4 separate regions of the Homo sapiens genome follow, and all the other regions are linked to region 1. The links are contacts of gene promoters, found by promoter capture Hi-C in blood cells and fetal thymus (Javierre and others, 2016). All regions are on one chromosome and are shown on one strand. Each heading gives the region's core, a stretch centred on a gene start or on the middle of the fragment in contact. The rest is flanking DNA. Distances are from core to core; before and after follow the strand shown. Region 1 holds the start of XPNPEP1 (X-prolyl aminopeptidase 1). Region 2 overlaps MXI1 (MAX interactor 1, dimerization protein). Region 3 overlaps MXI1 (MAX interactor 1, dimerization protein). Region 4 overlaps MXI1 (MAX interactor 1, dimerization protein).

Evidence for each region. The method cuts DNA at HindIII sites, captures the fragments that hold promoters and counts their contacts. A CHiCAGO score of 5 or more calls a contact.
Region 2: a fragment that was not itself captured here is called in contact with the fragment with the promoter of XPNPEP1 in region 1 in 8 of 17 cell types (naive CD8 T cells, activated CD4 T cells, total B cells and 5 more); the score reaches 6.9 in naive CD8 T cells.
Region 3: a contact is called between a fragment that was not itself captured here and the fragment with the promoter of XPNPEP1 in region 1, in 5 of 17 cell types (activated CD4 T cells, total CD8 T cells, naive CD4 T cells and 2 more). The highest score is 6.2, in activated CD4 T cells.
Region 4: a contact is called between a fragment that was not itself captured here and the fragment with the promoter of XPNPEP1 in region 1, in 3 of 17 cell types (total B cells, total CD8 T cells and naive CD4 T cells). The highest score is 6.0, in total B cells.

The regions. Positions count from the first base shown.
Region 1 is chr10:109,921,116-109,927,664 of GRCh38, forward strand. It overlaps XPNPEP1 (X-prolyl aminopeptidase 1), which reads right to left and starts at 2,396. Exons shown (of 21, transcript NM_020383.4): 1 at 2,287-2,396. The coding sequence starts at 2,318. RefSeq lists a silencer at 2,072-2,611. The HindIII fragment of the contact is 9,615 bases long and covers 1-2,803 here.
Region 2 is chr10:110,282,777-110,289,325 of GRCh38, forward strand. It overlaps MXI1 (MAX interactor 1, dimerization protein), which reads left to right. Exons shown (of 6, transcript NM_130439.3): 6 at 2,048-4,589. The coding sequence ends at 2,211. Among named protein-coding and RNA genes, the nearest start is that of SMNDC1, 19 kb to the right of the region's middle. RefSeq lists an enhancer at 2,609-3,110. The HindIII fragment of the contact is 1,220 bases long and covers 1,940-3,159 here.
Region 3 is chr10:110,253,951-110,260,499 of GRCh38, forward strand. The region is part of intron 3 of MXI1 (MAX interactor 1, dimerization protein); the gene reads left to right. Among named protein-coding and RNA genes, the nearest start is that of SMNDC1, 48 kb to the right of the region's middle. The HindIII fragment of the contact is 3,245 bases long and covers 1,666-4,910 here.
Region 4 is chr10:110,230,601-110,237,149 of GRCh38, forward strand. The region is part of intron 2 of MXI1 (MAX interactor 1, dimerization protein); the gene reads left to right. Among named protein-coding and RNA genes, the nearest start is that of MXI1, 26 kb to the left of the region's middle. The HindIII fragment of the contact is 1,218 bases long and covers 3,583-4,800 here.

The sequences.
Region 1 (6,549 bases), core at 1,146-3,645:
GACAGATAAAATTCTTAAGTTCTCTGTCAAAGCACAATTATCATTAAATATTAAGAACTAGAAGAATATACCTCAGGGACTATCCAACTCAATTCCCTCCTCTAGACCAGGAAACCAAGAAACAAAGATCAAATGACTGGCTCAAGGCCTCACAGCTAACTGCTGACAGAGCTAGAACCAGCGTTCCAGCCTCCCAACATCCAGCTCAGTGCTCCTACCCTTCCCAGAACTTCTTCGACCTACACCTTCTCAACTTCATGATGAGCCACAAAGTGGGTAAGGGGCAAGAAGCATGCAGAGCACTTTCAATCTTTGTATAAGATGGTTATGGTAGCACTAGAAAAGGCCTTCTCCCTCTTTTTCCAAGAAATTCTGGCAGGGTTCTGAATACCTCACCCCCCTGCAACCCCCAGTTCATGGGAATCACACATGTGTAGCGTTCAGCATGGGGCAAAACAAGGAACAAGATGCTCAATCACACCTAGTGGATGAGACAAGGGTAAACTGGAACAAGTTCTAAGGTTGGGAAGTAAGCAATGTTGTCTTTGTCTACCCAGAATCCATCCCTCCTTTTGATGGGAACCTTGGTTTTCCTTTTGAGAATGTACCCTCTCCATTTCAGCCCAAGGGGTTCAAAGCAGTCTTATCCAAACACCTAACAGGCTCTGGGACCCAAAGCAGGTCAATCCCTCCCTCTGGCCATAATGATTGGTTCACAGATGAACATGAGAATTAAGGCAGCCCAGTGAGCATCAGATCAGGGACTTCTGCTCCATTAGGAAGGAGGGCTCAACTTCTCTGCTGGGGCTGTCAGCCTAGAACTGTCATAACCTGCCATAAGGAGAAAGTCTCCCTGAGAATGAAGCGGATACTGAATAAATCAGAGCCAAGAGATGATAAAGAGAAGTCTGAAGCCAATGTTGGTGGTGCTCCCGGATTCAGCCACACTAGAAGCCAGCTCAACCCCATTTTAGGTAAATCAATTTGAGTTCAGTTTCCATTACCGAAACTGAAAGAAGTGCTCACTTTTACAAGGAATGGCACTCAAATTCTACCAGTAGGGGAGGCGCCTGTGGAAAATGGCTTCCCCTCTCTCAGCCTTTCACTGGACTTTCCTTTGAGGTAAAAAAGACTCTACCAGCTGGTGTAGAAAAGACTCTTCTGCTCCTAAAAGGCTGTGAGTCTATAAATCTAGCACAGATCACCTTGGCCCCCTAAAGACCACCTGAGGCCTACAGCCTAACTCATCATTATCCACTTGCCTGACTCCATTTCCAGCACTTCACTTACAGGAAGCTCCTTCCAGATGGAAGTTCTCCACCCCTCCCACATACTTCCACAGGGTGGGTCTGGTTTTCTGCTCACCCTTAACAAGCTGTGGCAACGGCAAATCCAGGTCAAGGTAGGTTTGGGACCCCCCTACTCACAAACACAAGCAGGAGCCATGGTCTGTGTTCAGCAAGAAAGCCTGGCCATGCTGCAAAGTGAGTGCATTCATGTCTCAAGTGGTTAGCAGGTGGGTGACCCCTTGGGGATGGCCAGGGAGTCTGGCCTGTGGCCTCCATGAACTCTGAACACCTCTCTCCGTCTCCCACTTTGTCAGAGGCTCTGATAAGTACATCCTGGTTATGGCAGGGGAATAAACTAAAACATGTTTAACTTGAGGCCGGGAAATTATCTGTCTCACCCTCCTATGCCCAAGGAGAGCCCAGGGCAGGCTACTGGGGGGATTTTCCTGGAGATTATACCAAAATATTCCCTTACACAGCCTCTGAAACCATTTGGGTAGGGAGGGGCCCGCGACCGTCTATCCTTGTGGCGGTGACAGATCAGTAGAGTGAATTGCAGGAGTCAGTATTGTCGAGATTGTAACTTGAGGTTTAGATTCCTGGGTAACAGAAGCGAGGGCAAAGGCTCGCCCACCTCCCCGGACACGAAGAGGGGCCAACTTCCTCCAAGAACGGGGCCTTCCCGCGGGCCAGGAACTGTGACGGCCGCCGCCCCCTCAGGCCGAGTGCAGCAGTTCCGCGGGCATACGCGTCCAGGAACCAGACTCGGGCCGCCCCGTGCCCACCGACCCTCCGGAAACGAACCGGATCTCGCCCGGCCTCATGGACCCCTTCCCCCGGCTCCTGTTCCGGGGCTCCGGCGAGCGCGGCCCTCGCCAGACTGCGGCGGGCCGGGCTCCTCACCCGCGCGTCCCTGCCCGCCGAGGTGCAACACGCGCGGCCGCGCAGCGAGGGCTGCACGCTGCCCGGACGCCGGCTGCCGGCGGAGTGCCCTCACCTTACTCGCGGTGGCTTTCTGGAGGCTGCCATTCGGCGGTGACGTGCCCCAGCCCACGTCAGGGGAGCGCAGACCAGCTGATCACCCGCGGAAGGGCCGGCGCGAAGGAGGCGCGAGAGCCGGCGGGCGGGCGGGCGGGCTAGCGCCGGGTCGGCCACGCCCTCGCCCGTGGCGGGCGCTGGCGCCGCGGCCCCGCCCACACGCAGGCCCCGCCCACACTCCCGGACCTGGGGTTCGCGGCCGCAGCGCCTGCGGCCCAGAGCGGGGCCTGCCCTTCCACACCAGTCCGCATTGCCTCTCCCTGCAGCGAGCGGGGAAAGGACGCAGTGCTGCTGAGTGTCTTCATTTTTGTTCGTTTTTGTCGTCATTCCTCAAAGAGGAAAAAGGGCTTTGCCGAATAAAGGGGCTACTGTCCCAGGGATTTTCCGGCTTAATTTAGGAGGGCTGAGAAGAGAGGGACGTGGCCGGCTCCGGAAGAACCTCGACAGGGTCTTCGAGGCTTTGGAACAGGGTCTCAAGCTTTAGAAATGTCCCCAAAAGTATGTTCCCAGAGAGCTTCAAAATCCAGCTCTCCGCTCCGCTTGGATAGTAAATAGCCCCTTCAAACTTAACGTCCAAACGGAACTCCTGGAACTCCCAATGCACCGAAGCAAAGCAAAAACGTTCTCCACCAGTCTTCTTTGCCATCTCAATCAATGGCTACTCTATTCTTAAGAGGCAAAATTTAGGAATCCTCCCTGCCTCTTCTCTTTCACACCCCACATCTAATCTGCCAGCAAAATCTTGTTGGCCCTGCCTCCAAAATAGACCCCTAATCTGGCCGTGTCACACCACCTCCACCTCCTACCCTCTGATGTGCATCAGAGGGTTGTACCACCCCACCCGTGTGGTTACAGCAGCCCCCCAAATATCCCCTCACCATCCCGCACCTGCACAGTCCAGCCTGAACAAAGCCGCCAGACCAGTCCTTTGAAGCGTGACACCAGGTCACTTCTTTGCTCAGCACTTTCCATTAATTTCTCGTTTCACGCAGCATAAAAGCTCCATTTGATCTACCCCCAGCCACATTTCCTCCTGTTCTCACCTTCCTCACTCTTCTTCAGCTGAAATGGCCTCCTGGCTCTCCTTGAAAAAGCAGGGTACACTCATGTCCCAGGGCTTTTGGACTTGCTCATCCCCCAAATATTGAGGCTCCCTTCCTCATTTTCCTTCAAGTCTTCGTTCAAGTATCACCTACCCTGACCATCCTATTTAAATTTGTAAATCATTCCAATATTCCTAATCCGCCTTACCCTACTTCATTTTTTCCATAGCACTTACCACCTTTTAACAGGATTCTTTTAATGTACTTATGTGTACTGTATTCTTCCCCCTCTCCTGCCACCACCCACGCACACAACAAAACCATCAGTGCAGATTGTTTCTGTTTTGTTTAATGATGAACAATATCTAACATGTCATAAGTTCTCATTATATATTTTCTGCAGAAATGAATGTTTCAGAATGTGCACTCCTCAAAAGCAGGGATGGTGGCTCTCTTGTTCATTGTTATTTCCCTGGTGCTTAGAACAACACCTGGCACTAAATGAAAGTGACCACATTTTTTTAAAGGTGAATGGCACCTCCTCCTGCTTTGACCTTGGTGTAAGGCCTAATATACCTGTATCAGCTAGGTTCTGCTACCTGCAAGAACTCAAAGTCGTTATTGAATAAGCATTTAGGCAAGCCGAATTAGACTGTGTAGTTAAAGCATGAAAAAACTAAAGATGTGCTTCCTGGGAAAGCAGCACACATCTGTTGCATTTCCCCAAATTTATGAAGCCAAAAACAGAGAGATTGTAAATAAAATACTGGTTCCAGCCCACATCTGAAAGCTGGTGGGAAAAATCAAGTTATAAGAGAAAACGAGATAAGAGAGAGAGAGATAAGTGAAACTTAAGGGGGACAGGTATTTAATAATCACATTGCCTAAAAGAAAAGGAGTTGGCTCAGAATTTACGGCATCCAGCTTCAGGGGAGAGAGAGAAATACCTTGCATTCCCTGAGCTGGATTTGAGTTCCTGTTTGCAAGATAAAAAAAGGAACCCTTTCCCCTCTTGAAGTTTTTTTGTTTGTTTGTTTTTTGAGATGGAGTTTTGCTCTTTTTGCCCAGGCTGGAGTACAATGGCACAATCTCAGCTCACTGCAACCTCTGCCTCCCGGCTTCAAGCAATTCTCCTGCCTCAGCCTCCTAAGTAGGTGGGATTACAGGCATGCGCCACCACACCCGGCTAATTTTTTGTATTTAGTAGAGACGGAGTTTCACCATGTTGGTCAGGCTGGTCTTGAACTCCTTGGCCTCGACCTTCCAAAGTGCTGGGATTACAGGCATGACCCACTGTGCCCGGCCTCGCTCTTGAAGTTCTAACAAGAGAACCTCTGGAGAAGTTATAGCACTGAATTACCATGAGAGAATGAGAACACCAGGAGTTATATAGGTTCTTCTCCTGGCTCTACAGTCCTTGCATCCTCAAAGAAGTGGAACAGTCACACTGCCTGACATTCATTGAAGGCTATGTGTCTAACCCACAACAAACCAATGGGTGAAGGACTCTTATCCTCATTTTACTGGTTGAGGAGACTGAAATTTGCAGAGGTTAAGCCCCTTGCCCAAAGTCCCTGAGCTAGTAAGTGGTGGTACTGTAACATACATTCAGACAGCAGGATGGATTCCTAGCCCTGACACTTAATCGCGAAGTTATCTGGAAGGGACCCTAGAGGTGGCCTCATCCAGTCTCCTAGCCCACACAGCAGAAAGAGGGAGACAGCTGGTTTTGGCATTCACACCCAGACCGGGTGGGTCTTAGATGTAGCCAGAAATATTAAATGCGTAGAAATATGTTGGATTGAATTGTGACCTCAAAAATTCATATGTTGAAGCTCTAACCCCTAGTACTTTCGAATGTGATCTTATTTGGCAATAGGATCAGTGCAGATGTAATTAATTAAAATGCAGTCATATTAGAGTAGGAAGGATCCCTAATCCAATATGAAGTGTCTTTATTTAAAACAGAAAAAGAAATCACACTGTGCACACAGGAAGAACACCATGTGAACACGAAAGCAGAGATCAGGACGATGCATCTACAAGCCAACAAACACCAGGACTGCCAACAAACTGCCGAAAGCTAGGACAGAGCCATGGAACAGATTCTCCCTCACAGCCCATGGAGTGAACTAACCCTGTGGGTATCTTGATCTTGGACTTCCAGCCCTCCAGAACAGTGAGACAACAAATTTGTTTTCAAATCACGCAGTTTGTGTTGCTTTGTTACGAAAGCCCTAGGAAACCAATGTAAAACAAGTTCCAAATGTCCGTGTATAGATTGTGGACCTGTGTTTTGGGCCACCCGACATTCATTCATTCTCCTTCTGATAACCATCCTACCAATTCCCTCTGGGGCCCACCTCTCCCTACTTCCCTCCTTTCCCCATTCTCTATGTATGTTATCCAAGTGCAACACTTGGATTCCAAGAGTGTATCATGTAACCCAGGCATAGGCTACAATGATAGGATCAGATATTGCTATGGGAATAGAGTCTTGCTTCCTTCTGCCAGCCAAGATCCTGGATGCATATACTCGAACTGCTGCCTCTATGTGCAACATGTGAATGGCACCAAGGCAGCAGAAGACAGAGCAAATAGAAAGGGGAGAAGCAGACCTCAAAACGTTATTTGAGTGCTGCATCCTGCAACACCTTAAACCAGATGTCCCACTGGACTTTACTTAAGTAACCATCTGTACCATTGAATTTTATGCATGAGTAGATATCATTTTATTAATGTAGACAATCACGAACTAACAAAGGGAAAAAGTAAATTATAAAACAATATAATATCCCTTTTTTTGTTTTTGTTTTTTGTTTTTTGTTTTTTGAGACAGAGTCTCGCTCTGTCACTCAGGCTGGAGTGCAGTGGCACAGTCTCGGCTCACTGCAAGCTCCGCCTCCTGGGTTCACACCAATCTCCTGCCTCAGCCTCCCGAGTAGCTGGGACTACAGGCTCCCGCCACCACACCTGGCTAATTTTTTGTATTTGTAGTAGAGATGGGGTTTCACCGTGTTAGCCAGGATGGTCTCGATCTCCTGACCTTGTGATCTGCCCACCTCGGCCTCCCAAAATGCTGGGATTACAGGCGTGAGCCACTGCGCCTGGCCAATATCCCATTTTTATAACATATCCATAACTATGTATACTGATACGGATATATAGATACAGAGTTT
Region 2 (6,549 bases), core at 1,300-3,799, 360 kb after region 1:
GTACACTTGGCTAAAGCAGTTTCTCATTTTACTTTGTTTTTTTGGGTTTTTAAAAAATTTTTTTAAACATATTTTTAAATTTTATTAAAATAGAGATGGGCCTTGTTGCCCAAGTGGTCTCAAACTCCTGGGCTCAAGCAATCCTCCTGCCTTGGCTTCCCAAAGTGCTGGGATTATAGGTGTGAGCCACTGTGTTGGCCATCATTTTACTTTATTTTGACTGAGTTCAGCATGCTCTTTTGGATAGTGTGCCTTGTTATTATCTTCTAGTTGTAGGTTGGATGAGTGTTCAGTGGTGCTGGGAAACAATGGCTTCTGAAGCAATTCGGATATAGAGCCAATATATGAATTCACAGATTATTTGGACAGCTGCCTACATTTTAAAAACATCTCTAGAATCTCTAAAACTTTTGAAGCAACAAGCCCTTTTGAAAAGTATATTCCTGGAAATAGCTTCACCCTGTCCTTTTGGCCTCACAAGAATCCACTTTTTTTTTTTTTTTGAGAGAGAGTGTCTCGCTCTGTCGCCTAGGCTGGAGTGCAGTGGCGTGATCTTGGCTCACTGCAACCTCTGCCTCCTAAGTTCAAGTGTTTCTGCTGCGTCAGCCTCCCAAGTAGCTGGGACTATAGGCGCGTGCCACCATGCCCAGCTAATTTTTCTATTTTTAGCCTAGACACGGGGTTTCACCATATTGGTCAGGCTGGTCTTGAACTCCTGACCTCGTGATCCACCTGCCTCAGCCTCCCAAAGTGCTTGGCCGCACCCGGCTGAATCCACTTTTTTTTTTTTTTTAAAGCAGTTGTGATTAGTGTGAACCCTTAAAAAGTCAGTGCCAAATGTGAAACATCAGGCTTTGAATTTAAGTAAGGTAACTGAAAAATCCTGGGTTTCACTCTAGCTCTGATGGGAGAAAACAACTTTTTAACTCCTTTTTGTTTTTAACATGTGTATTGATTTATGTATATTATTGATGATTGAATATCTAGTATTTAACAATTAAGATTTTTTTTTTTATTTTTAAGAGACAGGGTCTCACTCTGTCACACAGGCTGAAGTGCAGTGGTGAGACCTTGGCACACTGCAGCCTCAACCTCCTGGGCTCAAGAGTGATCCTCCCACCTTGGCCTCCCGAGTAGCTGGGACTACTGGATCACCCACTATACCCAGCTAATTTTTGTGTTGTTGTGTTTTTTTTGGTAGAAATGAGGTCTCACTTTGTTACCCAGGCTTGTCTCAAACTCCTGCACTCAAGTGATCTTCCTGCCTTAGCCTCCCAAAGTGCTGGGATTACGGACGTGAGCCACTGCGTCCAGCAACATTATCTATTGATAGCTGAGTCAAATATGTATTTGTGGTGTTTTTTTTTTTTAATGTTTGGCTTTTAAGTCTGTATACTACCACCAAAATGGATCTCACTATAATCTGAAGACTTTTAAGTCTCAGGCCCTTATTTCAAGCTATATTTGATGCAAGAAAATTAAATCTAAGACATATACCTCAAACTCTACTTTATAATGACTTGTTTGACTGACTAGTTGAAGATCTTTATGATGAATCCTAGAAGTCTGTTGAACTATCTGTAGAATGGCACCACCAAAGGCTTGGATGGGTAAATTTTCTAGTTTGCCTATATTAAGTTTATGCTCCTGCCCACCCTTTAAGGCAACCCTGATTAATAAACAGAACTGAGAATTAGTTTGTGGTTTAATGCAAAACAGATGTTTTTAAACCACTTGGGGGTTGGGACCTTTTAATATTAAGCACTAATTCCCAAATACGCCAAGTGCTTTAGGGAGGTCCAGACGGACTGGCGTCAAAGGATTTAGGAAATTTGCTGCCTAAATTAAGACCACCACTGTATATCAGACATTCCCCTTGGCAAAAAATATTCCTGTCTCTTCACCTTGTTCCTCTGTTCTCCAGACATCACTGATAATAAGCTTGTTGTGTAACATTTCTTATACCTCTTTTCCTCATGCTGTTAGTTTTTGAAGGTGCGCTATACTCGATAATTAATGTTCTTCTTTTTTTTTTTTCCTTTGGCAGAGGAGATTGAAGTGGATGTTGAAAGCACAGAGTTCTCCCATGGAGAAGTGGACAATATAAGTACCACCAGCATCAGTGACATTGATGACCACAGCAGCCTGCCGAGTATTGGGAGTGACGAGGGTTACTCCAGTGCCAGTGTCAAACTTTCATTCACTTCATAGAACCCAGCATGACATAACAGTGCAGGGCAAAATATTCACTGGGCCAATTCAATACAAACAATCTCTTAAATTGGGTTCATGATGCAGTCTCCTCTTTAAAACAAAACAAAACAAAACAAAACTATACTTGAACAAAAGGGTCAGAGGACCTGTATTTAAGCAAATACTTAGCAAAAAGTGGGGCAGAGCCTCCCAAGGAGAACAAATATTCAGAATATTCATATTGGAAAAATCACAATTTTTAATGGCAGCAGAAAACTTGTGTGAAATTTTCTTGATTTGAGTTGATTGAGAAGAGGACATTGGAGATGCCATCCTCTTTCTCTTTTCTAGTTTGCTCATACTACATTGAGTAGACACATTTAAGGATGGGGTTATGAACCCTTCCTGAGCTTTATGGTCCTAAAAGCAAAATAAAAACTATTCGAATGAAAAGACAAGAAAATCAGGTATTAATCTTGGATAGCTAATAATGAGCTATTAAAACTCAGCCTGGGACAGTTTATCATGAAGCCTGTGGATGATCAATCCTTTATTATTATTTTTTTTTTTTGAAAAAAGCTCATTTCATGCTCTGCAAAAGGAGAGACTCCCATGAAGCCTTTTGAAAGGGATCATCATGCAGCTCAACTTTCTGTTGGATTCCATGCTAAGCAAGCTAACCTTATCCTGCATTGTTAGCACTAGGCACCCAGCTGCCACCTCTCCATCCTGCTGCCCTTAGGCCACATGGGAGCAGTCCATGCATGACAGCCTCTATCCTACAAGGCCTATGAGTATGGATTGGGGGGGCCAAAAGGAAAAAGCTCCATGTGCCTCTTTGTCTGCGTGGGTCAGAAGAGTTGTGCACGCAGATTAGCAGGCCAAGGTCTGAGCCACAGCAGCATTTTTATTTCAGATTTTGATAACTGTTTATATGTGTTGAAAACCAAAATGACATCTTTTTAAAGCTTATCCATAAAAAAAAATAGATGTCTTTTATAGTGGAAAAACACATGGGGAAAAAAATCATCTATTTTGATGCAGCATTTGATAATGATAAAACACCTCACACCTCACTCTTTATAGTGCACAAAATGAATGAGGTCTGGGCTAGGTAGAAAAAGGGTCAATGCTATTTTTGTTTTTAGAATCATTACCTTTTACCAGCTTTTAACCATCTGATATCTATAGTAGACACACTATCATAGTTAACATAGTAAGTTCAGCACTTGTCTCATTTTAATGTAAAGATTTGCTTCCATTTTCCTACAGGCAGTCTCTCTCTTCCTCACAGTCCCACTGTGCAGGTGCTATTGTTACTCTTACGAATATTTTCAGTAATGTTATTTTCTTCTAAGTGAAATTTCTAGCCTGCACTTTGATGTCATGTGTTCCCTTTGTCTTTCAAACTCCAAGGTTCCCTTGTGGCCCTCTCCCTTACCCTGGGAAGGCCTCTTGGAGACCTTACCCCTGGCTGTTTGGACTTTGTATACTTTAAATAATTTAACTACCCTTAATTACTTAAAAAAAAAAAAAAGCTTTATGATTTTCATAACTTATTGCTGATTTTAATGGATTGTTAATTTCAGTCCTGTAGTTTTATTTTATGTTTAGATAGGGCTGGGCAAGGAAAAAGAAAATAAAGACAACCATATTTAGCAGTGCAGTTGAGTTGTGTGTTAATGTTAGACTATCCCTTTGTGAGTGACACTTTAACAGCATTCACTGCTTCTATATATAGTGTACCATCTTGGTCATACATTACGCCTCAACATATACTTGTGCTCTTCCTTTGCCTCCAGAAGAAGTTTTTCCTTGATTGTGCTATGTTTCAGTGGAAGAAATTCTTTGAAGTAGATGTGAGTGAAAAACTGCATGCCTTTAGAAGCCCAGTATCAGAACTTGCTACGTTTCAGGTGCTAGGGACTTAATGAAAAACAGGACAAAACAATTCCTTTTTGTGGCCCAGGTAAATTATTTCTGGTTTCACTTATAATTACTAATGGCTGAGTCAAGATGTTGTCTCTGTGTTTGCTTACTCTTGATCAAGTGTGAGACAGTTTGAAGACTGTGCTACCATACAAAGTGAATGAAGCCAGTGACTAAGCTTCTGTTTGTTTTGTTATTCTCATGGCCTTCGCTTGCATTATTTGGGCCTTCATTCAGATGAACTTGAGGTGCCATTTTGTTGCATATGTACAGGATTATGGGCTGGAAAGCATTTGTTATAAACCTATAGTGCACATTTTAACTGCCCCCTAAATTACCCTTCCCTGGGTTTGTTTTCCTTGGGGTGGTGTAGATTGTATGAGTAAGAAGTATTAATTTTTTAAAAGACAAATCAACTTTGAAGACACAAAAGTTAATTGGAAGAAATAAAAACTGTGAACGAAGAATACCTTTCTTTTTGTACCATCCTTCTTTATGAAGGCAAAAACATGAATGGGTATCCACACCTTAAGAGGTAACTATCTCCTAAATGTCTGTTGATACCAAATCAGTATCAATGCCAAATCAAATGGCAGTTTGAATTATAATTGCCATTCCTGTTCTGCAATTTAAACAGGAGCCTGACTGGTAACTCCATATAACCTAACTGCATGTGGTTTAATGTGCCACATTAATAATAATATTAACTGCCTCAGGTAGGACACAAAGCCATTCTCATGATCTGTTCTCTAAATAACTTTTGGGAGCATCCTTTAGCTACACTATTATTCAAATTGCAAACAAGTCTGGAAGTTCCACTAATCTTATTTAGGGTACCCTATTTATAGAACACCTGAGTGACATTTATATTAAAAGGTACAGGTAGGCCAGGTGCAATGGCTCACACCTGTAATCCCAGCACTTTGGAAGGCAGAGGTGCGCAGATCACTTGAGGTCAGGAGTTTGAAACCACCCTGGCCAACATGATGAAATTCCGTTATCCACTAAAAAAAAAAATACGAAAAATTAGCTGGGCGTGGTGGCATGCACCTGTAGTCCCAGCTACTCAGGAGGCTGAGGCAGGAGAATCTTGAACCTGGGAGGCGGAGGCTGCAGTGAGCTGAGATCGAGCCACTGCACTCCAGCCTGGGCAGCAGAGCGAGACTCCGTCTCAAAAAGGTACAGGTAAAACCTACTGTAGCGCGTTATGACTAGAGGATTCTGAAGTCACTGCAACTCAAGTTTCTGGTTAGAATAGGTATGAGAACTCCTACAGAAATGCCTTTCTAATCTCCCTGACAATGACTGCTTTTAGCATTATGAAGGAATTTTAAGAGGCAGTGAGGATTATTGAGGCAAAGTTGCTGACCAAAATCAGGTTCCCAACAGTTAACCCAGAACAGTAAAGTGTGGGAAAAGCAAGTGTTTTAATTACACTGTAATCCCAGTTCCAACATTGCTGACCCTAGTTAAGTTGCTTGATTTCTTCATGGAGCCCTTTTCTTCCTGAAAAGCTATTATAAGTACTACCTCTATCTTGAAGGGTTGTAAGGATTTAAGCTGATATATATAAACTACCACCCCACTCCCTGACTGCCATCTAGGAAGATGTAGCACTAAGGAAATTAAAAGGGGTGTATTTCTCTAGTTTCTCTGATGAATGCAACCTTTTAATGCATCCTTAATCCTGAATTTTAGTTACTTTGACTCCAGATCTTACAGAAAAAGACTGTTCCTAAATATTGGTTCACTTAAAATTCCATGGTAGGTAATACTTTAACATAAAGTAGTTATTTTTTATTTCCTATAGAATTTCTTTCTGTCACCCAGGCTGTAGTGCAGTGGTGTGACCTCGGCTCACTGCAACCTCCACCTTTTGGGTTCAAGCAATTCTCCTGCCTCAGCCTCCTGAGTGGCTGGGACTATGGCATGTGCCACCACACCCGGCTAATTTTTGTATTTGTTAGTAGAGAGGGCATTTCACCATGTTGGTCAGGCTGGTCTCGAACTCCTGGCCTTATGTGATCCGCCCACCTTGGCCTCCCGAAGTGCTGAGATTACAGGTGTGAGCCACTGCACCCAGCCTCCTATAGAATTTCTTAAATGAAGGCTTTATAAGATTAATGCAGCATCAGTTTTAGTGATTAGTTGGTCTTTCTAGAAAAAAGAAAAAGGACTAATCTCAAGTTGAACATATTATACACTGATAATAATGTGCCCTAGGTCAGTATTTAGTGCTGACTTTGCCAAGAAAAGACAATCAGCAGCTATCTCCTTTCCTATGTATCAGAACTAATAGGAAACTGGTTTTCTTGTGGAATATGTCAGATTGTTTTAAATAGGCAGCGTAGTTCAAAATAAATGTACTGGCTGAAAACTTCACTTCCTGTTGTTTTACCTTTCTATACAGTCATAAATTAGAGAAAA
Region 3 (6,549 bases), core at 2,038-4,537, 330 kb after region 1:
TTCATGACTTATACTCAACATTGTACTGGAGCTTCTACCCAGGGCAGTTAGATAAGAAAAAAAAAATAAAAGGCATCCAGATTGGAAAGAAAGAAGTAAAACCATTTCTGCTTGCAGATATCATGATCTTATGTACAGGTATACTTCATTTATTGCACTTTGCAGATACTGCATTTTTTAGCAATTGAAGGTTTGTGTCAAGCAGGTCAATTTCTAATCGCATATGTTCACTTCATGTTTCTGTGTTGTATTTTGGTGATTTTTGCAATATTTTAAACTTTATTATAATTTCATACGTTACGATGATCTGTGGATCTGTAATCTTTGATGTTATTATTGTAATTGTTTTAGGGTGTCACAAACCATGCCCATATAAGATGCAGACTTAATAAATGTTGTGTGTGTTCTGATGGCTTCACTGACTGGCTGTTGCCCCATCTCTCTCCCTCTTATTGTCCCTGAGACACAGCTATATTGAAATTAGGCCAATTAATAACCCTACAATGGCCACTAAGTGTTCAAGTGAAACAAAGAGTCACATGTATTTCACTTTAAATTTAAAGCTAGAAATGGTTAAGCTTAGTGAGGAAGGCATGTCAAAAACCAGGATAGACTGAAAGCTAGATCTCTTGTGCCAAATAGCCAAATTGTGAATGCAAAGGGAAAGTTCTTAAAGGGAATTAAAAGTGCTACTCTGGTGAACATCCAAATATGAAAGTTAAACAGCCTTATGGGTGATATGGAGAAAGTTTTAGTAGTCTGTATAGAAACCAGCCAGAACATTCTCTTAAGCCAAAGCCTAATCCAGAGCAAGGCCCTAACTCTATTTAATTCTGTGAAGGCTAAGAGAGGAGGAAGCTGCAGAAGAAAAGTTGGAAGCTAGCAGAGTTTGGTTCATGAGGTTTAAGAAAAGAAGTCATCTCCATACAAAAGTACAAAGTGAAGCAGCAGGTGCTAAGGTGGAAGCTGTAGCAAATTATTGAGAAAATCTAGCTAAAATAATCAACGAAGGTGGCAACAGATTTTCAAAGTAGACGAAACCATCATCTATTGGAAGAAGATGCCATCCAGGACTTTCATAGCTAGAGCAGAAGTCATAGAGAAGGGAAGTCGATGCTTGGCTTCAAAGCTTCAAAGGCTGGGCTGTCTTAATAGGGGCTGATGGGCTGATGTAGCTGGTGACTTGAAGTTGAAGCCAGTGCTCATTTACCATTCTGAAAATTCTAGGCCCTTAAGAATGAGGCTAAATCTCCTCTGCCTGTGCTCTGTAAATGGAACAATAAAGCCTGAATGACAGCACATTGTTTATAGCATAGTTTACTATTTGACGCCTACTGTTGAGACATACTACTCAGAAAATTTTTTTAAAAAATTATTGCTCATCGACAATACACCTGGTTACCCAAGAGCTCTGATGGAGATGTACAAGGATATTAATGTTATTTTCATGTATGCTAACACAACATCCATTCTGCAGCCCATTGGACCAAGGTGTGATTTCAACTTTCAAGTCTTATTATTTCAGAAATACATTTCATAAGGCTGTATCTGCCATAGATAGTGAATCTTCTGATGGATTGGGCAAAGTAAGATGAAAATAATTACATGTACAATAGCATCTAAAAGAATAAAATACCTAGGAATAAATGTAACCAAGAAGATGAAAGCTTTGTACACTGAAAACTATTAATACAAAATACTTTTGAAATAAATTAAGGAAGACCTAAATAGATGAAAAGATATCCTGTGCTCATGGATTGGAAGACTTAATATTGTTAAGATGGCCGTACTTTCCAAATTGATCTATAGATTCAGTGCAAGCCCTATGAAAGTTCCAGCTTCCTTTTTTTTTGCAGAAATTGACAGCTGATAATATAATTCATGTGAAAATGCAAGGTACCCAGAATAACCAAAACAATCTTGAAAAGAATAAAGTTGGAGAGCTTGCATTTCCTGATTTCAAATCTCACTATAAAACTATAGTAATCAAGGCAGTATGGAACTGACCAAAGAACAGACTTACTGATTAGTGGAATAGAGTTGAGCGTGTAGAAATAATTTCTCACATTTATGGTCAACTAATTTTTAGCAAGGATCACAAGACAATGTAATGTATTTTCAACAAATAGAGCGGACACAACTGGATACCTACATACAAAATAATGAGGTTGGATCCCTACCTCACACCATACACAAAACTCAAAATGGATCATAGACCTGAATTTTTTAAGAGCTAAAACAATAAAATTCTTAGAATAAAACATAAGTGTAAATCTTTATGATGTTGCATTAGGCATTGGTTTTTTACATATGACACCAAAAACACAACCAACAAAAGAAAAAAATAGACACATTAGAATTTATCAAAGTGAGCTGGGCATGGTGGCTCATGCCTGTAATCCCAGCACTTTGGGAGGCTGAGGTGGGCGGATCACCTGAGGTTGGGAGTTCAAGACCAGCCTGACTAACATGGAGAAACCCCATCGCTACTAAAAATACAAAATTAGCCGGGCATGGTGGTGCATGCCTGTAATCCCAGCTACTCGGGAGGCTGAGGCAGGAGAATCACTTGAACCAAGGCAGCAGAGGTTGCAGTGAGCTGACATTGTGCCACTGCACTCCAACCTAGGCAATAGAGTGAGACTCTGTCTCAAAAAAAAAAAAAAAAAAAAAAAAAAAGAAATGGCCAATATACATGTGAAATGCTTAATATCAGTAGTCATTAGGGAAATGTGAATCAAAACTATAAGATACCACTTCACAGTTACTAAGATGACCATCTAGGGTTGCTCACCAACTTTGTAGTCATCCATTCATCATACCAGTTACCACTGATCAGAGAAAGGTCTTGAAAAGTCCACTGAGTTTGCAGTTTGGCACTTAAAAACTGATAATGTCATCATCAGCTGATGGCACTGCACAGATGGCTCAACACTTTGCAATTACTTAAGACATGTAATTAACCACAGGTAAGTTTTCAATATATTATGTGGTGCCAGTATGTAATGTGGTATGAGTATTTAATAATGGAGAAAGATTAGTCTCTATTTAGCATATGAAAAGAATATACCTTTCTTTCAGCTGGAATTACCGTCTTCCAGTAATTTACCAAAATAACAAACATAAAGGGAAAGAGGAAAGACTCCTGATATACGTTCTCTGGGTTTCTTAGAAAACATGGAATTGTTCCTTTGGCCACAGACATGCGATTCTACAAAAAAGATGATATTGTAGATATCAAAGGAATGGGTACTGTTCAAAAAGAAATGTCCACAAATGTTACCATGGCAAAATTGGAAGACTGCGAGCATGCTATTAGCATTGTTGTACACAAACAAGTTAAGGGCAAGTTTTTTTTTTGGTTTTTTTTTTTTTTGAGACGGAGTCTCGCTTTGTTGCCCTGGCTGGAGTGCAATGGCGCGATCTTGGCTCACTGCAACCTTTGTCTCCCGGGTTCAAGTGATTCTCCTACTTCAACCTCCCAAGTAGCTGGGATTACAGGCACCCACCACCACACCTGGCAATTTTCTTTCTATTTTTAGTAGAGATGGGGTTTTGCCATATAGGCCAAACTGGTCTCAAACTCCTGACCTGAAGTGATCCACCCGCTTTGGCCTCCCAGAGTGCTGGGATTACAGGCATGAGCCACTGCGAAGGGCAAGATTCTTGCCAAGAGAATTAACATGTGTATTGAGCATATTTTTTAAGCACTCTAAGAACTGAGGTAGCTTCATGAAATGCATGAAGGAAAATGATCAGAAAAATAAGCCAAAGAGAAAGGTTTCTGGGTTCAGCTGAAGCACCAGCCTGCTCTATCCAGAGACGCGTACTTTATAAGAACCAGTGGAAAGATGCCTGAGCTGCTGGAACCTATTCCCTGTGAATTCATGGCATAATAGGTGTTTAAAAAACAAACAAACAAACAAAAAACAAAAACCCTCTGGAAAAAAAAATAAGGGGGGAGGTATAGGTTTTAAGGATTTCTAATTAACAATGAAATCTAACAAAATTAAGACTAGATATTGAAAGAATTTACTAGTTTTATAAATTTCATTTAACAAAATTAAGACTAGATATTGAAAGAATTTACTAGTTTTATAAATTTCATTTAAGATGTAACAGAATATAACTTGATTATATTTGTTATGCCTTGAACAACAAAATTAAGAAGTATAGTTGTGGAGGAAAGGAAAAACAACATTGTCCAGTGATCAGGAAGTAGCTACTGATCCAGTTTTCTGGATTTTATTTCTGGCAAATAAAAATGGTGGTTACTTCCCATTTTTAGCCTAAAGGTAGAAAATTGATACCCATACTTTTAATTATTGCAAAAGTCCTGAAGAAGATAATTATATTCTTTGTACTTTTTTAGACAGTAGGAGTCCAGTTGCAGGGCTGAATTATAGAGGGTTACTGTAGAACACTTATGTCTTGGAAAGTAGGGGCCACTCATTTAATTGAATTTTCTTATGAAACTCTTAGAAAGTAGGTGACACTCATTTACTTGAATTTTCTTAGGAACCGGATAAATATGTAAATTAACATTATCAAACAGTATGAAGAACAGTATCATTTATCAGAGAGCTATATAATTCATGTATTTCTTTTTGTATGCAAGTAAATGAATATTTTAACTGTAATTTCTATAGGGATAGGAATACTGAAAACTGTAGACCAACTAAAAATAGTTGTCAGAGGGCAGAGATAGGCACCTGTTAGAGTTAGAATTGAATGCTATATGAGATAAAGATGAAGTAATGTGCAGGTTTTAGAGATAAAATAGAGGAAATGTAGCCAGGATAAAATTACACATCTAAAATGCAGTCTGTACAATGAAGTCATTGCAGTTGTGTCTAGATAGATTCACAGTTTCTATACTGACCTTTGTTAGAAATAGTTCATTAAGACTAAGCTTTCTTCTCCCTGACCTAGGTTACATATACAGCAAGGTGACAGAGGCTCATTCGGAGACAAAGACTGAATTGTAGGAACCAAGTGTTTTTAGTACTTCAGCTAGCCAGTTATTAAAGTTTAAAGCAATTCTACAACTGATGTGTGGGAAGAAATGAGATTATGAGATCTTAAAAAATAATCAGAAGTACTGTAACTTGAAATTCAGCTTCTAAAATTTTGTATAGAAATAAACAAATAAGTCAGACATTGAATAATTGACATGGTATATTATAGCGAAGTTGTGGTAGCTTTTTATGCAAGTGATTGCAGAGTGCCTAACTTAAGCTGTAACTTGTTTAAGAAAACAATTCTTCTCAAACTATGAATTTGTAATTTAAAAAAACAACAGGAAGAGTTTAATTAATAGATTTTCTTGAGATATTTTAGATGATGCAATGTAAACAAATTTATTTTATATGCAGCTTTGAGGAATGTGTTTGATTCATAAACTGACTATACCTTTAGTACTGATGCTTGTAATAATTACACAGGAGAATCCTACTAGACTTTAAGGCAATATGTTATTTTGCTAAATTCTTTTGCTGCATATTGTAAAGGAATTTGTCCATTGTAAATGCTGTGATAAATATTGAAAATTGAATAGTAAGCACAATTCAAATACTTTTTCTTAAACTAGAATCTTCTTCATTTAAAGATAATTTCTATTCTGGTACAAATTTTGGCAATTAAAGCATGCCAAGAGGAAAATCAGTAAAAAATGTCTTTTTATTAGATGAGAGACTTTGTTAGTATCTTGCATTTATATTCTAAAAATGAAGAGATTCAGATATTTTGATATATTTTAGCTGTTTTGAGGAAGAGGATAATTCTTTACTTCTTGCTTATCTTTTTCTACTTATTCTAGTAAATAATGTCAATCCCATGACAGTGAAAGTCCCGTAAGTGTTACTAGTGAAAAACTTTAGGTCTAAACTAGGATTCAGTAATGACAACAGAATTTCCTAATCTGATTACTAGCTAACCAGTTCTTTAAGACGAATTTGTTTGGAAAATAATTAATCAGCACTATGACAAACACATGACATAGTGCTTATACTCACATCTTCTAAATCAAGAAAAGTTGGAACTTAACTCATAAGTAAATGACTTCCTTGTTTTGTTGTTATTTTGGGAAAAGCCAATGGAGAAAGATAGGTTTTAATACTAAACATGATTTTGGAGCCAAATTGTCAAAAATGATACCCAGAATCCAACACAGATGGCCCTTGGGAGATATGTAATGCATTGACATGAGTATCGTACCAGAAGTCAGAAGACATAATTTTTCCTTTCATCTCTACTACTGATAGGTTGTGAATGTTGTATAAGTTAAACCACTTCTTGGAGTCTTGCTTTTCTTGGCTATTAAAGGAGGATCTCTAGATGATCTTAGAAATCCCTGCCTACATGTAAAGTTTTGTACAGTTTTGTGAATTTTTGAGTTAAGTAATTATTGGCATATTAGAAACTTAGTTGTTACTCTGCTGTTTCTGAAGCATTTTCCTTGATACAGGTGTGTGTGTGTGTGTGTGTGTGTGTGTGTGTGTGTGTGTGTATACGCCCACAGATATATACATATATATAACACTTGAGACA
Region 4 (6,549 bases), core at 2,942-5,441, 310 kb after region 1:
AACACTAGAAATTATTTCTCCTTTGCCACTTATTTAAAATGCCTGCTTCATGGAAGTAAGGAGAGCTGAGGTAGAAATTCCAATACTGGGGTATTTGGACAATAGTGTTGGTCCATTTGAAAGAGGACACTGTAGGCTTCTTCTTAATTTTAAGTTTACTATTGGATTTTAATGAGATTTTATTATGCTGGTTACATAAAGCAGAAAGTTAGAAGACTTACAGAAATTTCCATGTATTTATCATCTGAAACAAGGAAAGGAATGGACTTCATAAGTATATATGTCTTATTTTTTCCTGATCAAAAAGCTACTAGTGTGGAAGTAGCTGTTATTTTATTACTATACATCTTGAACACTGATGTATGTTATAAAATGACATTTGTTTCTCTGACATCGTAGCATCTTTAAGATATAATGGTGATTGACTATTTTACCCCTGATATTCTCAGGTATTATATGATATGCCTGATAAAATGTTACTTTAGGCAGGGTGCAGTGGCTCACGCCTGTAATTCCAGCACTTTGGGAGGCTGAGGTAGGTGGATTGCCTGAGGTCAGGAGTTCGAGACCAGCCTGGCCAACATGATGAAACCCTGTCTCTACTAAAAATACAGAAATTAGCCAGGTGTGGTAGTGTGTGCCTGTAATCTCTGCTACTTGGGAGGCTGAGACAGGATAATTGCTGGAACTTGGGAGGCGGAGGTTGCAGTGAGCTGAGATTGCATCACTGCATTCCAGCCTGGGCAACAGAGTGATAATCCACCCCCCCCCCCTCAAAAAAGTAACTTTATAAATTTATGCTGAAAGTAGTTAACTCCTAATATTATAAATTCCTATTCCCCTTTCCCCCATTCCTTAAAATCTTATTTTCAAAGAAGTAAAAAGGAGAGAAAATAAATGATATAATGTGATATTACAAATATGTTCCTTGCAAATACCAGTAATTTTATCATTTGGGATCCTTCTGATAGTTGGAAGTGGCACCTATAATATATAATTAAAATAAATGCTTGATTTTACTGTGGTCTTGGTCACAGCCTTCTGGCACACTTCCAAAAATCAACATTGCTAAGATGTTACTGCTGTTAGAGAATGTGGCTGCAATAGCTATCTGGCTTTTTGGGGAGCATCAGATAAGTTCAAATTCCAGCTTCTTTACTATTTGGTACCACAGGTGAAAAATCTCAAGGTCTGTCATCCTTAAAACTCTACTAAATAAGCCATGACTGCAGTGTAACACTGATTTCTTCCTAAATATCTCTTCAGTCGGCCTTCTTTCCTGTTACCTTCATTACTATCCTCCTAATCTCAGCTACCATCATCTCTTACTTGGACGACTGCAGTAACTTCCTACCTGGTGTCCCTGCAACTACAGTTTTTTTTTTTGTCTGGTTCTGTTGCCCAGGCTGGAGTGCAGTGGCGCGATCTCAGCTCGCTGCAAGCTCTGCCTTCTGGGTTCACGCCATTCTCCTGCCTCAGCCTCCCGAGTAGCTAGGACTACAGGTGCCTGCCACCATGCCCGGCTAATTTTTTGTATTTTTAGTAGAGACAGGGTTTCACTGTGTTAGCCAGGATGGTCTCAATCTCCTGACCTCATGAACCGCCCGGCTTGGCCTCCCAAAGTGCTGGGATTACAGGTGTGACCCACCGCACTTGGCCAGTTCTTATGAATTACATTGGCCAGCCTTCTTTTGATTCCTTCAGTACGCGTTTTCTTCTACCTCAAGATCTTTGCATACTTTCTGTTCCCTGCAGGGAATCATTTTCCCTCCCCCTTTGTTATCTCTGTTGAATAACACTCTTCTTCAGCTCAATCATAAGTTCCTCAGGAATGTTTCCTCATCTGCCGTAGTAGATCAGGTCTTCACATACTTCATGGCACCCCTATTTTTCCTTCATAGTGTTCATCACATTTGTAGAAATACAGTTATCCAGTTGTTTCTTAAATTCGTGTCCTATTCACTGGATTAAAAACCCTGCGAGGCGGGCAGGGATTGAGTCTCTTCTGCTTAAACATTTATCCCTAGTACTTATCACAGTGCCCCGTAAATAGTATGTGTTTCTTAAAGAATGGAAGGTTTTCAAACTCCAAGCAGACTGTCTTAAATTGAATTTCTTTTTTGTGCTGAGTACCATATTAGACTGGAAGGAAGAGTGATAAAACCCCTGTTTTGGCAAACTCTGATTACTTTGTGTTCCAAGGGATGTTAATGATACATTTGGAAAAACAGCATGTAGTATTTAAAGAATAAAAATCTCTAAACTGTCAATTCTTTTAAACAAGCAGGCTACAGAATGCTACACTTAATTTTGAAGAACATTCAGTGTCATCCTGTGTCATGAAAATAAAATAATACCAAACTTGCATATTGAAAGAAACAGAAGTCTTTCAGATATTGGCAATAAATATTCATATGAGCCTGTGACACACACATAGTAATTGCATTGTTTTAAGGTAATCTGGGAAGTAGTAAATAGCCAATTTATGCTTTAATTTCAAGTTGATATATTTCTTCTCTTTAGTGTCCTATGGATACTAAAGAATCTCATAAAAGCAGTATCTCAGTTCCACTTTCTAAGATTGAGGACACTAAAAAACAACTTTTCTGTTGTTTATAAGGCTTTAGTTTAATTTTTCTTAAACTGTAGAATAAAGAAATGCTTTAGTCTTATTTTAGATAGAATTATTGTATTGTTATTTTTTAGCTTTGCATCCTTTTCAGCTATCTTCATGGATTTTTAGTTTTTCTGGGGAGAGGGATGGTGGTGAATTATTTTCCTAGGATAGTTTCAAAGGATTTTTTCCAGTAGTAATTTGAGATGCTTTATCTTCTCTTTATTCTACGTGAACCTATTTGTTCACAGAAGAATTGAATGAAGCCTTATTTTTATTTTTGTGTAATTTTTTTCTACTATTCTGTGTTTTTCAAATTTTTTTATATTAAAAAGTAGTTTCTGGGTCTTTGTTCCGTAGAAAACTCCCAAAGTTTCAGGACAAAAATGTAGATTAGTAGCAGTTAAACTCTTAATGATGTTGTTATTATTCTTAAGTATTTTCTGCATTTTGAGTGATTAACACATCCAGTGAAATGTGTTTTGTGATAGTCTGTCTTCTACCAAAATTGACTTAAATGAAAAATTCCCAAGAATTACTTATATGCCTTATACTAAAAAAACTGAGGCTTTCCTTTAAATGCTTCTTTGAAGTGTAAGTTTGCTATTGCTGGGTTTCTTAAGGTTATATTCCTCTATGGAAGTATTGAAGGAAACTTGTATGATCATGCCTTGTAAGTCAGTAGGACAGCTGTTTCTGTTCCTAGTCGATGAAAGGCATTTTTGTCAAAATATTGAATATATGATGTAGAAGATCACAAAATGTAGAAAGGGAATTCTTTAGTACAATTCTCTGATTTATGAAGACAAAATATTATCACTCATTTTATGATTAAAGCACATGTGGCTTAGAGATGGTGATTGCTTAAGCCTTACAGCTGTAGATGATGGTTGACTTTATTGTCAAGCTGGATTTTAAGCAATATATGCATCATTGTTATAATCAGGCAGTACTGTTGACTGGAAGAAAGCTTTCTCTTCTAGATTTCTCCTTGCAAATGAAAGAACATTGCCTGCTTTTGAATATAGCATGATTCTTTGTCATTTCTTCAGTAAGGACAGTTTTCTAGATACTAATCTAATCAAAGAGGCTTGATGGTATGCTTTGACAGAGTGTATTTCCAGGTCCCATTTTTAGTGTGATTGTATAGTGCTGATGAAATATAAACATGCATTTTTTGTTAGATTGTTTTTTTGTTTTGGTTTCCTACATTTTAAAACACAGTCAGTGGTACCATAATTAACAGCATTACCCATAATATCAAACCTATTTTTTTGAAGTTGCTCCTAACTTTTATATTATTATTAATATACTCAGCTCCTCCCCATAGATGCAGGTGTTATACATCTATGGTACCACTCGTTTTTCCCCCAACAGTTATTTACTGAATGTTTATTTCATGCCTGACTCTTAAAATGATTACCTTTGGAAGTCAGATGAGTTAGGAAATTGCTGATATTTTCTGTACTTTTAAAGGTTTTTTAGAATATTGCTCTGTAATAGAATTTGTTGTTAACAAATGAAGTAGTCTAGATAATTAGTTGTTTACCTTAATGTGTTTTTTAACTTCGAGAATATGTTTAAGAGCAATTATTTTAACCTTCAAAATTCTCTGTAGTTTCTAGTGTTGCTGCCTTACCTAAGAAATATTATTTTACAAACAATATTTAACTTTAGAATGTATAAGATGCTTCTTAATTTCTGCTGCTACCAGGTGAACTAGTTATTTTAAATTCTTAACATTTTATAAAGGTAATATATGTATATAGTTTAAAAAGTCAATTAATACTAAATAGCTTATAAAGGAAAATAACATCCCCATGCCCCACCTCTCTCCATCCAATTTCTGCTTCTTAGAGACTACCACTTCCGATAATTTCACAGCTTCTTCTGTTGTTTGCTTTCATATTTCTAAATGAGAAGCGTTTCTTGCTATAGAAGATGAGAATTTGACTGTCATACTCTTTGACTAACAGCAGATTAATATGCCAGAAATGAAGATTTTTAAAAAGTACATGAGAGCAAATATTCTCCAAAGGAATGATGTTTCCAAATGAGATACTTTGTAGTACTGTTTATTATTAATCACCTACAGAAAAACATTGATATTTTACTCTCATCTCTGAGTACTTTATGGTAAATTATTGCCTCAGTTTCATGATGAGGTTTATTAGTTAAAAAAAATAAGCTTGGCCGGGCACAGTGGCTTACACCTGTAATCTCAGCACTTTGGGAGGCTGAGGCCAGCAGATCATGAGGTCAGGAGATCGAGACCATCCTGGCTAACATGGGGAAACCCTGTCTCTACTAAAAATACAAAAAAATTAGCCAGGCATGGTGGCGGGTGCCTGTAGTCCCAGCTACTCGGGAGGCTGAGGCAGGAGAATGGTGTGAACCCAAGAGGCAGAGCTTGCAGTGAGCCAAGATTGCACCACTGCACTCCAGCCTGGGTGACAGAGCAAGACTCTGTCTCAAAAAATAAATAAATAAATAAATAAATAAATAAGCTCTATTGGCCGGGTGTGGTGGCTTATGCCTGTGTTCCCAACACTTTGGGAGGCCGAGGCAGGCGGATCATGAGGTCAGGAGTTCTAGACCAGCCTGACCAAAATGGTGAAGCCCGTCTCTACTAAAACACAAAAATTAGCCAGGCATGGTGGCACACGCCAGTAATCCCAGCTACTTGGGAGGCTGAAGCAGGAGAATCACTTGAACCCGGATAGTGGAGTCTACAGTGAGTTGAGATCATGCTACTGCACTCCAGCCTGGGCAACAGAGTGAGACTCCATCTCAAAAAAAATTTTTTTCTCTATTTTCTTCTAGCAGTTTATAATATTAGGTTTTACATTTAGATTTAAAATTCATTTAGAGTTAATTTTTGTAGAGGGTGTGAAGTAAAGGTTGAAGTTCTTTTTTTTTTTTTTTTTTTTTTTTTTTTTTTTTTTTTTTGCAAATGGACATCCAGTTGTTCCAGTATCATTTGTTGAAAAGACTATACTTTATTCATTAAATGGCCTTGGCACCTTTGTGAAAATCAGTTGACCACAGACTTGTGAGCCTTATTTCTGGATTTTCTGTTCTGATCCTTTGATCTAAATATTCATCCTTATTCTAATGCCACACTGTCTTAATTATTATAGTTTTTCAAAAAGTTATGAAATCAGGTAATGAATGTATTCCGACTTGGTTCTTCTTTTTCAAAAGTTCCTTTGGCTATTCTAGGTCTTTTGCATTTTTATTTTAATTAATTTATTTTTTTGAGACAGGGTTTCACTCTTTCACCCAGGCTGGAGTGCAGTGGCATGATCATGGCCCACTGCAGCCTTAACCTTCTCGGGCTCAGGTGATTCTCCCATCGCAGCCTCCTGAGTGAGGAGCTGGGACTACAGGTGTGCACTCCCACACTCTGCTAATTTTTATATTTTTTGTAGAGATAGGCTTTCACCATGTTGCCCAGGCTGGTCTTGAACTCCTGGGCTCATGCAGTCCTGCCACCTCTACCTTCCAAAGTGTTGGGATTACAGGCGTGAGCCACTGTGCGTGGCCTGCATTTTTACATAAATTTTAGAATCAGTTTGTCAGTTTCTACAACAGAGCCTGCTGGAATTTTTATTGGGATTGCACTGGATCTATAAATTAATTTGGGGAAACCCAACATGTATTAACTATTGAATCTTCTAATTCATTAACATGAATTAATAGACATGGTATGTCTATTACTTAGATATTTTCAAATTTCAGCAGTATTTTTTAGGTTTTCAGAGTATGGGTCATACACATACTTTATTAAATTTTTCCTTAAGTATTCTTTGATGCTATTTTAAATAGCAATTAAATTTGGCATTTTGGTTTTGTGAACTGACTTCGCTAAACTTAATTGTTCTAATAGTCTGTATATTCCTTAGGATTTTCTAAATAGACAGTAATGTTGTTTG